Regions from separate parts of the Homo sapiens genome. Here region 1 is linked to region 2. Evidence: promoter capture Hi-C in human tissues and cell types (Jung and others, 2019). All regions are on one chromosome and are shown on one strand. The core of a region is centred on a gene start or on the middle of the fragment in contact, and the rest is flanking DNA. Distances in the headings are between cores, read along the strand shown.

The links. Contacts are between HindIII fragments. The study calls those that stand out against the background at their distance.
Region 1: a fragment that was not itself captured here is called in contact with the fragment with the promoter of SGMS2 in region 2 in 1 of the 25 tissues and cell types used here (bladder).

What each region holds. Positions count from the first base shown.
Region 1 is chr4:107,868,376-107,874,204 of GRCh38, forward strand. The region is part of intron 2 of SGMS2 (sphingomyelin synthase 2); the gene reads left to right. It overlaps CYP2U1-AS1 (CYP2U1 and SGMS2 antisense RNA 1), which reads right to left. Exons shown (of 7, transcript NR_125929.1): 4 at 5,605-5,713; 5 at 4,955-5,069. Among named protein-coding and RNA genes, the nearest start is that of SGMS2, 46 kb to the left of the region's middle. The HindIII fragment of the contact is 3,686 bases long and covers 1,640-5,325 here.
Region 2 is chr4:107,820,999-107,827,378 of GRCh38, forward strand. It overlaps SGMS2 (sphingomyelin synthase 2), which reads left to right and starts at 3,934. Exons shown (of 7, transcript NM_001375905.1): 1 at 3,934-4,255. RefSeq lists an enhancer at 6,152-6,380. The HindIII fragment of the contact is 5,909 bases long and covers 1,739-6,380 here.

The DNA.
Region 1 (5,829 bases), core at 2,233-4,732, 47 kb after region 2:
ATCTGTTGAAGAGCAATAATGCCTTTGATGAGTGCATTCTTATTCTTAAAGTTGCTGCCCGCCAGGTGTGGTGGCTCTCGCCTGTAATCCCAGCAGTTTGGGAGGCCTAGGCGGGTGGATCACCTGAGGTCAGGAGTTTGAGATCAGCCTGGCCAACATGGGTGAAACCTTGTCTCTACCAAAAATACAAAAATCAGCTGGGCGTTGTGGTGGGCGCCTGTAATCCTAGCTACTCGGGAGGCTGAGGCACAAGAATTGCTTGAACCCAGGAGGAGGAGGTTGCAGTGAGCCGAGATCGTGCCACTGCACTCCAGCCTGGGCGACAAAGTGAGACTTTGTCTCAAAAAAAAAAAGTTGCTGCCATTTTCAGAATAAAATGAAGCCTTTTTCTGCTCCTGTAATCATAGGATTCTGGAGCCCTATTTTAGAGTTAGGATTTTCTTTTTCCACTATCCCTTTTGTACCTGCCTTTAGCACCCCTGGATATTTTTCACATTTGAAAGCTTTATGATTATTGAATATTATGTTCAAGTAATTTTGTGCATTTTCTTACTATTGACAGCCTTTGAACAAGTCTGATTTGTACTTACAGAACACCATTTTTAAGAGATTTGTGTAATTGTGCATGAATATAGGTCAAAAGGTAGAAGTAAAGAATAGTAGCCATACCATGAACATGTTGGGCACAAAGCACCCAAGAGGGGGAGGTTGGTTTCTTAAGAAGCAGAAAGTTATAAATGGAAATGAGTGTTTCTTTTTAAAAGGGAATTTAGGAGAGAGGGGACACTAGGTTTTGTAACCCAACTGGGTAGTGAGTGCTGTATTTGAAAGTTCATTTCTAGGTCCAGTAGCACATACCAGGGAGTTGTAGCAGGAAAGGTTTGTTGGAGGATATGACATCTGCTGAGACCTGAAGCACGAGAGCCAAGTGTGTAAGCAAGTCGATGGGATTGGGAAGAAGTTTAGGCTGCTAAAAAATTTTTACATAAAGCTTGATAAGAGGGGATATTGCATGTGAAATAAACAGAAATTCAGTAAATATGGTGGAAGTGCAGGATTTAGGGGATGGAAAAAAATACTAGTTTCAAAAATTGAGGCTAGAAGTGAAGGTAGGGGCCAGATTATGAAAAGCCTTGTAAGCAATGCTAAGAAACAATAGATGTCAGAAGGACATGCCACCATCTAAAAAGCAGTCTTGAGAACAAGTAATTGGATAAAGGTGACCTGACTAGGTATTTGTTTTTTTAAGTAAATTGTGTTAATTTTGTTAGGTGTAAAAATGGCATTAGGGTCATGTTGGGGAAAAAAGAATCTCTTTCTTACAGATGAAATTACATGGTCTCTGAGACTGCTTCCAAAAATACAGAGTAGAGGACAGATTAAAAAAAAAAGATTTCCTGTGATAATTGTTATGGCTAATGGGGTTCACTGTAGTATTTTCTACTTTCATTATGTTTGAGATTTTCTATTATAAATTTTTTCTTAAGTCAAAATAAGCAATGGACTTTTGGGTCATAGGGAGCCATTTAAGGTCTTTAACGAGGTCAGTAAAGCAGGAAATAGATTAGGAACAAAACCAGAGAGGAAGGGAGTGCTGCATTAAATACCATGATTGTGGAGCTGTCAGTTTTTCCTTGTGTAGGAATGTCCATGATTTTATATCTTCTTGGTGAGCTGTTCTCTATTATCTATTTTCTCAATACTTTTACGTTGTACTCTAGTTGTAAAAGTACTGGTGATGCCTGCTATTCCTAATAACTATATCAGCCTTTTATTTACAAAATAATCTTGTATGTAGCTTTTTAGTGGATGGATTGGATCCATTTAAAAATTGTTGTGGCTGTTGATTTGTTTGGACTTATGTCTGTCCTCTGTAAGTAAGAGATGTCTGTGAAAAGAAAGCAGAGGTAAATAGATGGGAGATTAAAATGGACAGGATTTGTAGTGATTTTCAGGTGAGCAGGGGAGGGAGTTTGAAGTCGGGTAATAGCCAACATTTATTTACTCCGAGTAGCTGATTGGATGGTGGTACCGTTTACTGTGATAAGAAATGGAAGAGGAGGTGCGTGAGTGGAAGGAAATGTCAAGTGTGTTTTGGTACATGAGTTGTAAGCATCTGCTTTTTCTTTGTTCTTAGAGCTATGAACTCTTAGATGGAATTCATTCCTTTCCTTTAAAGATACCCGCCATTAACCCATAATCACTTTTGCCAATTTTAAGATTTCCTCTAAAGTATAGATGCACGTTAACCAGAATGTCATTTTTGGTTTCGTTTGGTTTGGTATAAGCTTTGGAAATGGGCTCCCAATGTCCTATGCTTATTGATGCAGATTATGCTGTAAGAGATAATTTTAGAAACAATAAAAACAAAAACTCATTTTCTAGGCTGCTTCTTTGTTTCATGGTAAGCAAAGAAGTATAATTCTTTGATATTTTTAAATATAAATTTTTGATAGCATGTTTATATTTTAAAAAGCAATTTAAAGTGATTATTTATAGGCAAGCACTTTTATTTATATAGAGTCATCAATGACAATTAGATTTAATGGAAATAAGATTAACTATAAAATTACATCTTTTAGCTTCCTAATGCTAATTGAACATTGAGTTTGTAATGTTTCCTGACTACCTCTTGGCATTATGTTCAGGTTTAGAGACAGCGATTTTAATCATCCTGTGTTTTTCTAAGCCCATTTCACCCTTTAGAAAACAGTTTTGATCATAGTTCACTCCCATGGATAGACCAGTGCCAAACCAAATAGGATAAGTACTTGGCTGATTTTCTATTCACTGCTGATAGGCGGAGCTTGGCATTTTAAAAGGCTATTAACAGAGAGAGAGAGACTATTTTACTTATTTCTGATTTTATTTTCAGTTTTTATCTATATACCCTAGACGTTTTAAAAATTCCTGTTAAGTTATATATAACCAGTCTTTTTCCCATTTTATTTCTGTCATTTGAATTTACTTTTCACTTTTACATCTACCTGGCATATGGTTTCACTAAACTTCAAATGTTATTTCAGGCTGTTTTCTAATTTGTAAAAGTTTTTATCTCTCATTGTTCTTTTTAAGTGACTTCTGCTTGGGAAGAGGGGAAAAAGCAGTTACTGAATCAAAAATGCCTTGAGGACGGGAGCCAGCTTTCTCTTCTGCCGCCTTCCTTAGCACTTAGGACCCAATTCTGCACAGAACAGGAGGACATAAATAATTCTGTCTTTGTTGGCTGTCTGTTTACTTTACCTTCTAGGCTATCAGCAATAGTATTAACCATTGCTACATATTTAACCGGCAAGTACTGGTATCTTGAGTTTGGTCACTGTTTTTCATTCAACCCAGGGTACAGTTTTAAAAGTTTTCTATACCTGTAGTTTCTATCCCGTTTACTCAAGATAAAATTTAAAAACGTCTGCATTGAAGGTCAAATTCTGAATTCTTGTTAGATATTTGATAGCTTTAACTTTTATGTCTCCACATAATGCTTTTGTTTTTATTCTTCCTCTGCTTATAATATTGCATCTTTAGCCTTTTTTAAAAAACCTAATATGCGTTAAACACTTATTTTAAAAAAACAGCACTGGGATGATCAATTAAATAAAAGTCCATCATGACCAGTGTAATTAGAATACTATACACATGCTATTTTGATCTATTATAAATAGAAAAGAACTCAAAGGCAAAAATCCATAATTGAGTAAGTATGGGAGCATCTTCAGAGGAATCTTTTTAGTTTTAGAAAGTTATATTAGTACAGGTTTCTAGAGGGCATTTACTGTAATTGGATCTCAGTAGGTTGGAACATAGATGTTCCTGATGTTCTTTTGACTTGATGTTGCACTGATTTTTCTTTCTGACAATGGTTGTTCATTTAAAATTTTAAATTGAGTGTTATCTCATAACACTCAAATTGAGTGTTTAAATTGAGTGTTATCTCATAAGCCTGGTGAGCCTAATTGAATAGCCACCCTTTAACGTCCCATCCTGCTTTGTCTTCGTAGCAGTTTTAATCTTTCATTATTATTGTCTTACATTAGCAGAATTCAAGCTCCATGAGGGAAGCGACTTTTTAAAAAATTGTTATATCCCTAGAACAGTGACTAGTACATAGTTGGCACTCACTAAATATTATTGAATAAATAATTATCTTAGCCAAGCATAGTATTGTGCACCTGTAGTACCAGCTACTCAGGAGGCTAAGGCAGGAGGATTGCTTGAGCCCAGGAGTTAGAGGCTGCAGTAAGCTATGATTGTGCCACTGCGCTCCAGCCTTGGTGACAGAGTGAGACCCCTTCTCTTAAAAAAAACAATAAGAAGAACAACCTTTGTCTTTTTAGGCAGTAAAATTAAAACATGCTGCTTATTTATTTTTTCAATGCAAAAAAAGATAAAAAGTGAAGTAAATGTTCCATGTAGTATCACCCTTCCAGTAACCATGTAATTTATATAACACAATTTTCTTTATATAATATACATTTATTTATAATGTAACTAGTCCCATTTTGATGGACAGTGTGGTTCTGGTTTTTCAGTCTTACAGATCCAGAATCACTTATCCACAATTTCAAAATCTGAACAGTAGTAGAATTACTATGTCAAAAGATAAAAGCATTTCTAAAGCTCATCATATATTTACAAAGAGATTCTCAAAAGAATGGTACCAATTTATGATTCTACCAGCAGCTCACTGCAGTTTTTATGCTCCGTTCTGATTACAGCTTAAATTACATTTTAATGGGATTTGTTTCAAAATAACTTTCCAGTGTTCCTTATCCATGAATTAGAATAGGGTAGAAGCTTGTGTGCTAATTTGTCAATGAGACATTCTGTAGGAAGTTCTTATTATTGGTAATTTGGAAATATTTAGTCACAAGAACTCTTTTGCCTACGATTTGTCAGAGAAGGTATAGGGGAAATCAGCTTCAAATAGGAAGTAAAGAAATGAGTTCTGGCTTACCTCAGATTTACCTTCTACTTCTGTTTCTCTACTCCCTGCAGAAGTAGATATCACAGCAGAAGTTCTTCTCTGTTACCCATGTTTTCTCAGGGTTTAGATTTCTGAAATCACTTGCCTTCATATACATACGAGGGATATGAAAAGAATGTGAAAATGAAAAACTGACTTAATGTGCAAAGAAAGACGAGCATCAAGGCCCCAGATGAAAGCCTTGATTATATAAATAATCAAAATTATATTTTATATATTATTAATCTAAAATTTATTATATACTTATGCTGTGTTTATTTGCATACAATAATGAACTGTTCCTGAGAGAGTATCTGACTTTTTCACATGGTAAATTAGTTTTAATTGTGGTTCTGTATACGATTTACTGTTGCCACAGTCGAAATATTTCAGTTCAGTCTGTAGAATTTCAATATCACGTTGCTGTGTAAGAGCACCTGCCCACAGTTCCCACCACAATTTGGATTTTCATCCAAATACTCAGGATTTTAATGGCAAGGATTGATCCCCCTGTAAGTTTTACTTTTACAGAACATGTCTTACTTTGGGCTCCTAAGAACTATTTAAGTGCAGCTGCAGTGTCTACCTTCACTTTTCCACATTTTTATTCTCTTTTAAGGCTTTATTGCAGAAACTCTTACTCTTGTTCAGCTATTCCTTTTCTTTTCCAAACTCATTTCTCTCTTCTGATCACCTTCCGAAGGGACAGCTTGGATACATTGGAACTAAATTTCTTGTTTTATAATATATCTAAAAGAAATACAAAATAAGAGCTGTATACTGTGTTCTAGGTTTCTGCGAAAGAAAAACAGGCAGTTCACTAGGGATCACAGCATAATTAATGGTGTACAAATAGACACTCCACA
Region 2 (6,380 bases), core at 2,684-5,183:
GGCTAATTTTTTGTATTTTTAGTATAGACGGGGTTTCACTATGTTGGCCAGGTTGGTCTTGAACTCCTGGCCTGACGTGATCTGCCTGCCTTGGCCTCCCAAAGTGCTAGGATTATAGCCATGAGCCACTGTGCCCGGACCATGGAGATTCTTAGATAAACAGCCATGGGCACAAAGTAGGAATTCAATACAAATTTGTGGGTTGAGCAAATGACTTTAGATATGTTCAGATTCGAGTTACTGTAAGAGGAAATAAGTACTATAGATCTACATGTTTTCCTAAATCAGTATGTTTTATCAAATCAAAGAAATACCTGTAAAACTTGATTTATGCTGCCTTGGAGAAAACAATGGACAAGAACACACTTATCTATCATCCATTTCTCTCCCTTGAAACACTCAGTGCCATTATTTTTGAAAGGTGATGAATTGCAAATTTTGTCACTTTTCATACATGGTAAGAACAAAAGGTGCAGTTAAAAAACAAAAAAAAAATCATCTTTCTGTGAAAAGGATGTTACTATTTCTTAAAACATAGAAATTAAGATGAGTAATTTGCTTTCTCATATGTTGATAATGAATAGATTGAAAAAACTTCGTATCATCCATTATCAATTATATTATTTAATATATGTACTTGGGGATATTTAAATGGTATAATAAAATGACCTAATTACTTATTTCACAATATTTAAACTGAGGCACAATAGTAACCACTAATTCAAAACTACCCATTCAACAGCCTTCCACACAGAGGCTTATGAGGGAACTACAGGGTTTATATCAGCCAACAGTGCAGGCAGAACTGCAAGCTTTGTTTGGAGCTTTTTGACTTTATCCATGTACACAGGCCAAAAAGCCCACAATATCAATTGAGATCTGTAGAAAATTGTATTTAGACTTATCCCATAATGTCCAAATATTTGGATCATGAAGTAGGGAGTAGGTGGGATATTCACGCAAACTTACTTATAGATGGCTATACATTTGAATCTAGTCATTCAGTGTTACCAATGGATAGGACACCCATGCTTCTGAATTAGCTCTGTGATTGTCTATAAAAACTGCTGATTTGAATTTTGACTGCATCCTAGCAAACCAATCCATTTGCTATTGCCTTCTGGGCAAAATGCCTGGGCTTTGTAAATTTGAAAATGAGCTCCTTATTGAAGGGGAAAAATAAACCCCAGGACAATAACTTTCGATTGGTGGTCTCCTCTGGGTTCTAACCTTTAAAAGTAGCTCTAAAAGAGTCCATTTTCCACAACAATGATGTTGAGCCCTTGGTTAATTTTAGGAGCATTTTCATTTGGGGGAAACTTCTGTATTGTGACAACATCTTTTTTTGGTTTTATATTTTAAAAATTTGGGGGGACCGGGCACAGTGGCTCATGTCTGTAAATCCCAGCACTTTGCGAGGCCGAGAAGGGTGGATCGCAAGGTCAAGAGTTCGAGAACAGCCTGACTAACATGTTGAGACCCTGTCTCTGCTAAAAATACAAAAATTAGCCAGGGTTGGTGGCACACACCTGTAATCCCAGCTACTCGGGAGGCTGAGGCAGGAGAATTGCTTGAACCCAGGAGGTGGAGGTTGCAGTGAGCTGAGATTAAGCCACTGCACTCCAGCCCAGGCGACAGAGCAAGACTCCATCTCAAAAAAATTTTTTTAAATTTAATTTTTGTAGGTACATAGTAGGTATATTTATGGGGTACACACAATATTTTGATATAGGCACATAATGCATAATAATCACATCAGAGTAAATGGGATATCTACCATCTCAAACATTTATCCTTTCTTTATGTTACAAACCAATTATATTCTTAGTTATTTTAAAATGCACAATTACTGTTGCCTGTAGTTGCCCTGTTTTGCTATCAAATACTATACCTTATTCATTCTATCTAACTATATATATATTTTTTACCCATTACCCATCCCCCCTACCCTTCCCAGCCTCTGGTAACCATCATTCTACTGTCTCCATGAGTTCAATTGTTTTAAATGTTAGCTCCCATGAATAAGTGAGAACATGTGAAATTTGTCTTTCTGTGCCTGGCTTATTTCACTTAACATAATGACCTCTAGTTCCATCTATGTTGTTGCAAATGCCAGGATCTCATTCTTTGTTATGGCTGAATAGTACTCCATGGGTATATGTAACGATTTATCCATTCATCTGTTGATGGACACTTAGGTTGCTTCCAAACCTTGGCTATTGTGAGTAGTGCTGCAATAAACATAGGAGTGCAGGTATCTCTTTGATACACTGATTTCCTTTTTTGGGCATATATACCTAGCAGTGAGATTGCTAGGTCATACGGTATCTCTATTTTTAGTTTTATGAGGAACTTCCATACTGTTCTCCATAGTGGTTATACTTTTTACATTCCCACAAACACAAGGGTTCCTTTTTTTTTCCACAACCTCGCCAGTATTTATTGCCTGAGCACCTTTTCATATACCTGTTTGCTATTTGTATGTCTTCTTTTGAGAAATGTCTATTCAAATCTTTTGCCCATTTATTACTCGGACTATTAGATTTTTTTTTCCTATAGAGTTGTTGGAGCTCCTCATATATTCTGGTTATTAATCCCTTGTCAGATGGATAGTTCCCATTCTGTGGGTTGTCTCTTCAGTTTGTTTCCTTTGCTGTGCAGAAGCTTTTTAGCTTAATATGATCCCATTTGTCCATTTTCTTTGGTTGCCTGTACTGTGACGACATCTTGAAGTTGCGAGTTTGGGGATTGCCTGCCTTGTATATTCTTTTCTGTTACCATCATCTTTAATAGCCACAAATGACTGTTGACCCACATGATATCTGCACTAGAAACCCAAAGATTCCCGTCATTATTTTTGTTGATTATATGGAAGCACCCATAAACCAGCGCAAATCCTAAACATAATTATCTTGTCCAGAAGGAGACATTAATGTAAAACTTATGTCAAGAAAGATTTAGCCACATTCCCTCGGATTGGTCATTCCTAGTTAGAGTCCTTGAGGCTGCCATCGTTTACTTTGAAAACTGCCCAGCAGGTGTATGAATAGCAACTCCAGGACAATGTAGAACCATTACCATTTTAAAGACAGCAATCCCCCTTTTAAAAAACTACTGAGGCCTTCGAAGAAACCACACGGCTGCCTTGGGCCCCAAAAGCTGCGGAAAAGCGCAGTATTCAGTTAAGCAAATAACTACTTACACTGTTTATTTTGGTTACGATTCCTTAAGTGAGAAGTAAATCAATTAACAGGACAAATGACACGATGGTTAGGCACGAAAGGGACAGTGCTGCCACCTCATTAGCTTGGAGCAACCTTCCAGCTCATACCATGCGGACTGATGACTAACCTTGCCAGGCAACGCTGTGAGGTTTGGAAACCCACCTCTTTGACCTAGGCCCGGTCAACACCGATAAACCCTCTGAATCAACGCTGGCGCTCCCAAGCCCACTCACACGCCGTCAGGAAGCAGTTTCCGAAACAGGCCGGGTGCGGGGGTGGGGGATCCCGTTCCAGCCCCACCCCTGAAAGTTGCTGGGAGTGGCACCCAAAGAACTTTCCCAGATTGATCTCTGTTGCCGCTCAGGGAGGTCAGCTCCAGGCCCTCAGCCTTTCGGCCGGGAGCCAAACTGCCCTGCCTGCCAAGCCCCTCCTTCTCTGCACCTTAAACAGCCGCGAGGGGAGAGTCGGCTGGGATTTTCTTCTTAAGAAGTCGCGCAGGTTTTTCGAGCTCCACTCTGCGCCAGGAGAGCCACGGCAGCAGGAACGGGCACTGCTGCCACCGGGCCGACGGGTGAGTCACTGTTTGGAAATGGAGTGGGCGGGCGAGGGTGTGAGAGAATGAATGATGTCAAGAGCGCGCTGGGCGCAGGGCGCAGGGAGCGGGCCGCGCGCGGCGGGCGGGGAGAGCGGGCGCGGGGCCGCGGTCAACACTGAGCGCCGCGCCGTGGGCCGAGTGGGGCGGGGAGACCCAGCCCTCGGCGCGCACGGAGCCTGGCCGGTGCTGCAGCGCCGCCGAGTGCGGCCTCGGGGGCGGCGGCCGCGGGAGGGACCCGGAGAGCTGCTTCCCCTAGTCAGGCCGCGGCGTGGGAGGGCGAGACCCCGAGCAAACTTTCTAGCGGCTTCGGCCCGAGGGTGGTGACGCCCGGGGCTGGTCGCGGCGGCTGCGGCAGCGGGCTCCATCCCCTGGCAAATCCCCTTCCCGGGAGCAAGTGCCTTCAGCTGGGAGTGTCTGGAGCCCTGGCCACCAGCGGGTAAGGAGCGCGCGGAGGGGCCAGGAGGAGGATGGGCTGGGGAGCGGAGAGTCCTCCGAAGCGCGGGAGGGGAAAGGTGGATTGCGAAGCGGGGACGTGGCTCTAATCCGGCCCCCACCCTCCCCGCCCAGGGCATGCTTCCTCGATTTTGTGGTCTGGAGGAGAGATGTGTGCCTTAGTCTCCTTCCTCTGAGCAGTCATCTCATTCATTTGCAACCCATTTCGGGTACCCCGGTCCTGGCGTTGGAAGGGCACAGGTTAAACCCCAGATTGTCCAGAACCACTCCGGAGGTCAGGGCTGAAGTTCAGTTGGTGGAGGAGGGACTGTGTGTGTGTGTTTGTGTGTGTGGTTTTTCTTTTCTTTCTCTTTTTTTTTTTTTTTTTTTTTGAGAGGCACTTACTGATGATGTGTGAACAGTAACAGCCCAGCTCTGGGCAGCCCACACCGAAACCCTTCAACGTGTGGCATTCCAGAGCTGCTCCCTTTACGGAAGGGAAGACTTGGTTTCTCAGCGAAAATAAGGGGCGGGGAACCCCTGTCAACATCCATCCAGAGGTATGGATAATCATTAATTATCCACGGCTTGAAACCAACTCAAAATGTTATGTCCTGTAGTCTTTTTTATTTATTAATGTTGCCGGTCCTCTATTTCAAGTCTTGCCTGCTCTGAAATGACCTTAAAATCATTTTGACATGTGTGTTATATTTTGAAGAGATTCAACTGTTTAGTGTCACTGGATTCGGCGTGGGTTTTCAATCTGTACCTAACTTTTCAAATCCTTGGTTTCATTACCAGTCTCCTCTATTAACGGTGGGTGCTCAGGCACATTAAACATTCTGAACCAGTAAAATGGGATTATAGCTACTTCAGATAATAAGGTGGATTAAATAAGGATTAATAATGAGGATAATAATGAGGATTAAAGCGCAAAAGACTTCTCATAATGTCTGGTACAAAGCAGACCCCAACAAATTATAGCTGTTTATATATAAATAATAGTGTGTTGCAGCTGGCTTAGGTAATAACCAATTAATTTCCACAGAATGTCCTCCTTATAAGCCTGGTGGGCCGAGGGTTAGCATGTGAAATCCTTTGGCAAGTTCCTTAGATTGGGAAGTGATGTTTTCAGCAAGTTAAACATTTTTAGTACGGATACCTGAGAAGGTTATGGTTTCCATCCTGTGTCATGGGAACTGCCATTTACTGTTTAAACAATGTCAGAGCAATGGCTGAAAGTGACAACCTGGAATTTACAGGAAGAAAGGACGTGAGGAAGCTAACTTTACCTTTACCTTTTTTTTTTCCTAAAGAAGCAGTGCAAGCAGTGCAAAATTTCCTCTTTATGGCCCTTTCCTTGGTCTTCTAATGTTCTTACTTCACAATAGTCTGGTTGAAGTGTTTTTTTTTTTAACAAGTTAATGTTTAATTTGGTTCCTTTGGTTTCATTTTTAAGTAAAGCTAGTTGACTTGTGAACCTAGAGGGAAACACTTGGACACCTTGAGGTGGCTGCACCTTGTTCTGAGTTTCTCCCCTCGCAGAATCTCATAAAAGCCCTAGGAAATGTTTGGAAGAAACTTTAGCACTTGTGCACGTTATTGAAGACATTTGCTCTTACCATAACTATAACAACTTACAGGGTGAAAGATCTGGGAGCTGTCCTACGACAGTACCGTGTAGTGAGATCATGGACATGGGAATCCAGGAGACCTGAGGCTCTCTGAGCTGTGTTCCTTTGAGCAAGTTTACTTAAACTCTTTGGGATTTTTGTGGGACTTTAAACAAAATATAGGGGAAAAATAGAAATAATCTTAGAACTATTAAAATAGACAATGGAGTATCAGTGAGAACTTTTTTTAAAAGTGATGCTTTGAGGTGAGATGTTTCTTTTTTAAAGGAATAATTACTGAGAGTTTTGGACAGTTTTAGACTAAACAATGACTTACCCACCTTTAGCGTGTTGTCTCAATGGAGAAATTGAAGGCTTTGTCTTGAACTACTAGTATCAGATATTTATTTGCTTAACGTTTAGTATGCAACAACTACATAACAGCCACTGTGCTAGGGGCCAGCAATGCAAACGAAGGAGATAGTTGCTACCCCAAAGCTTATAGTCCAGTAGAGA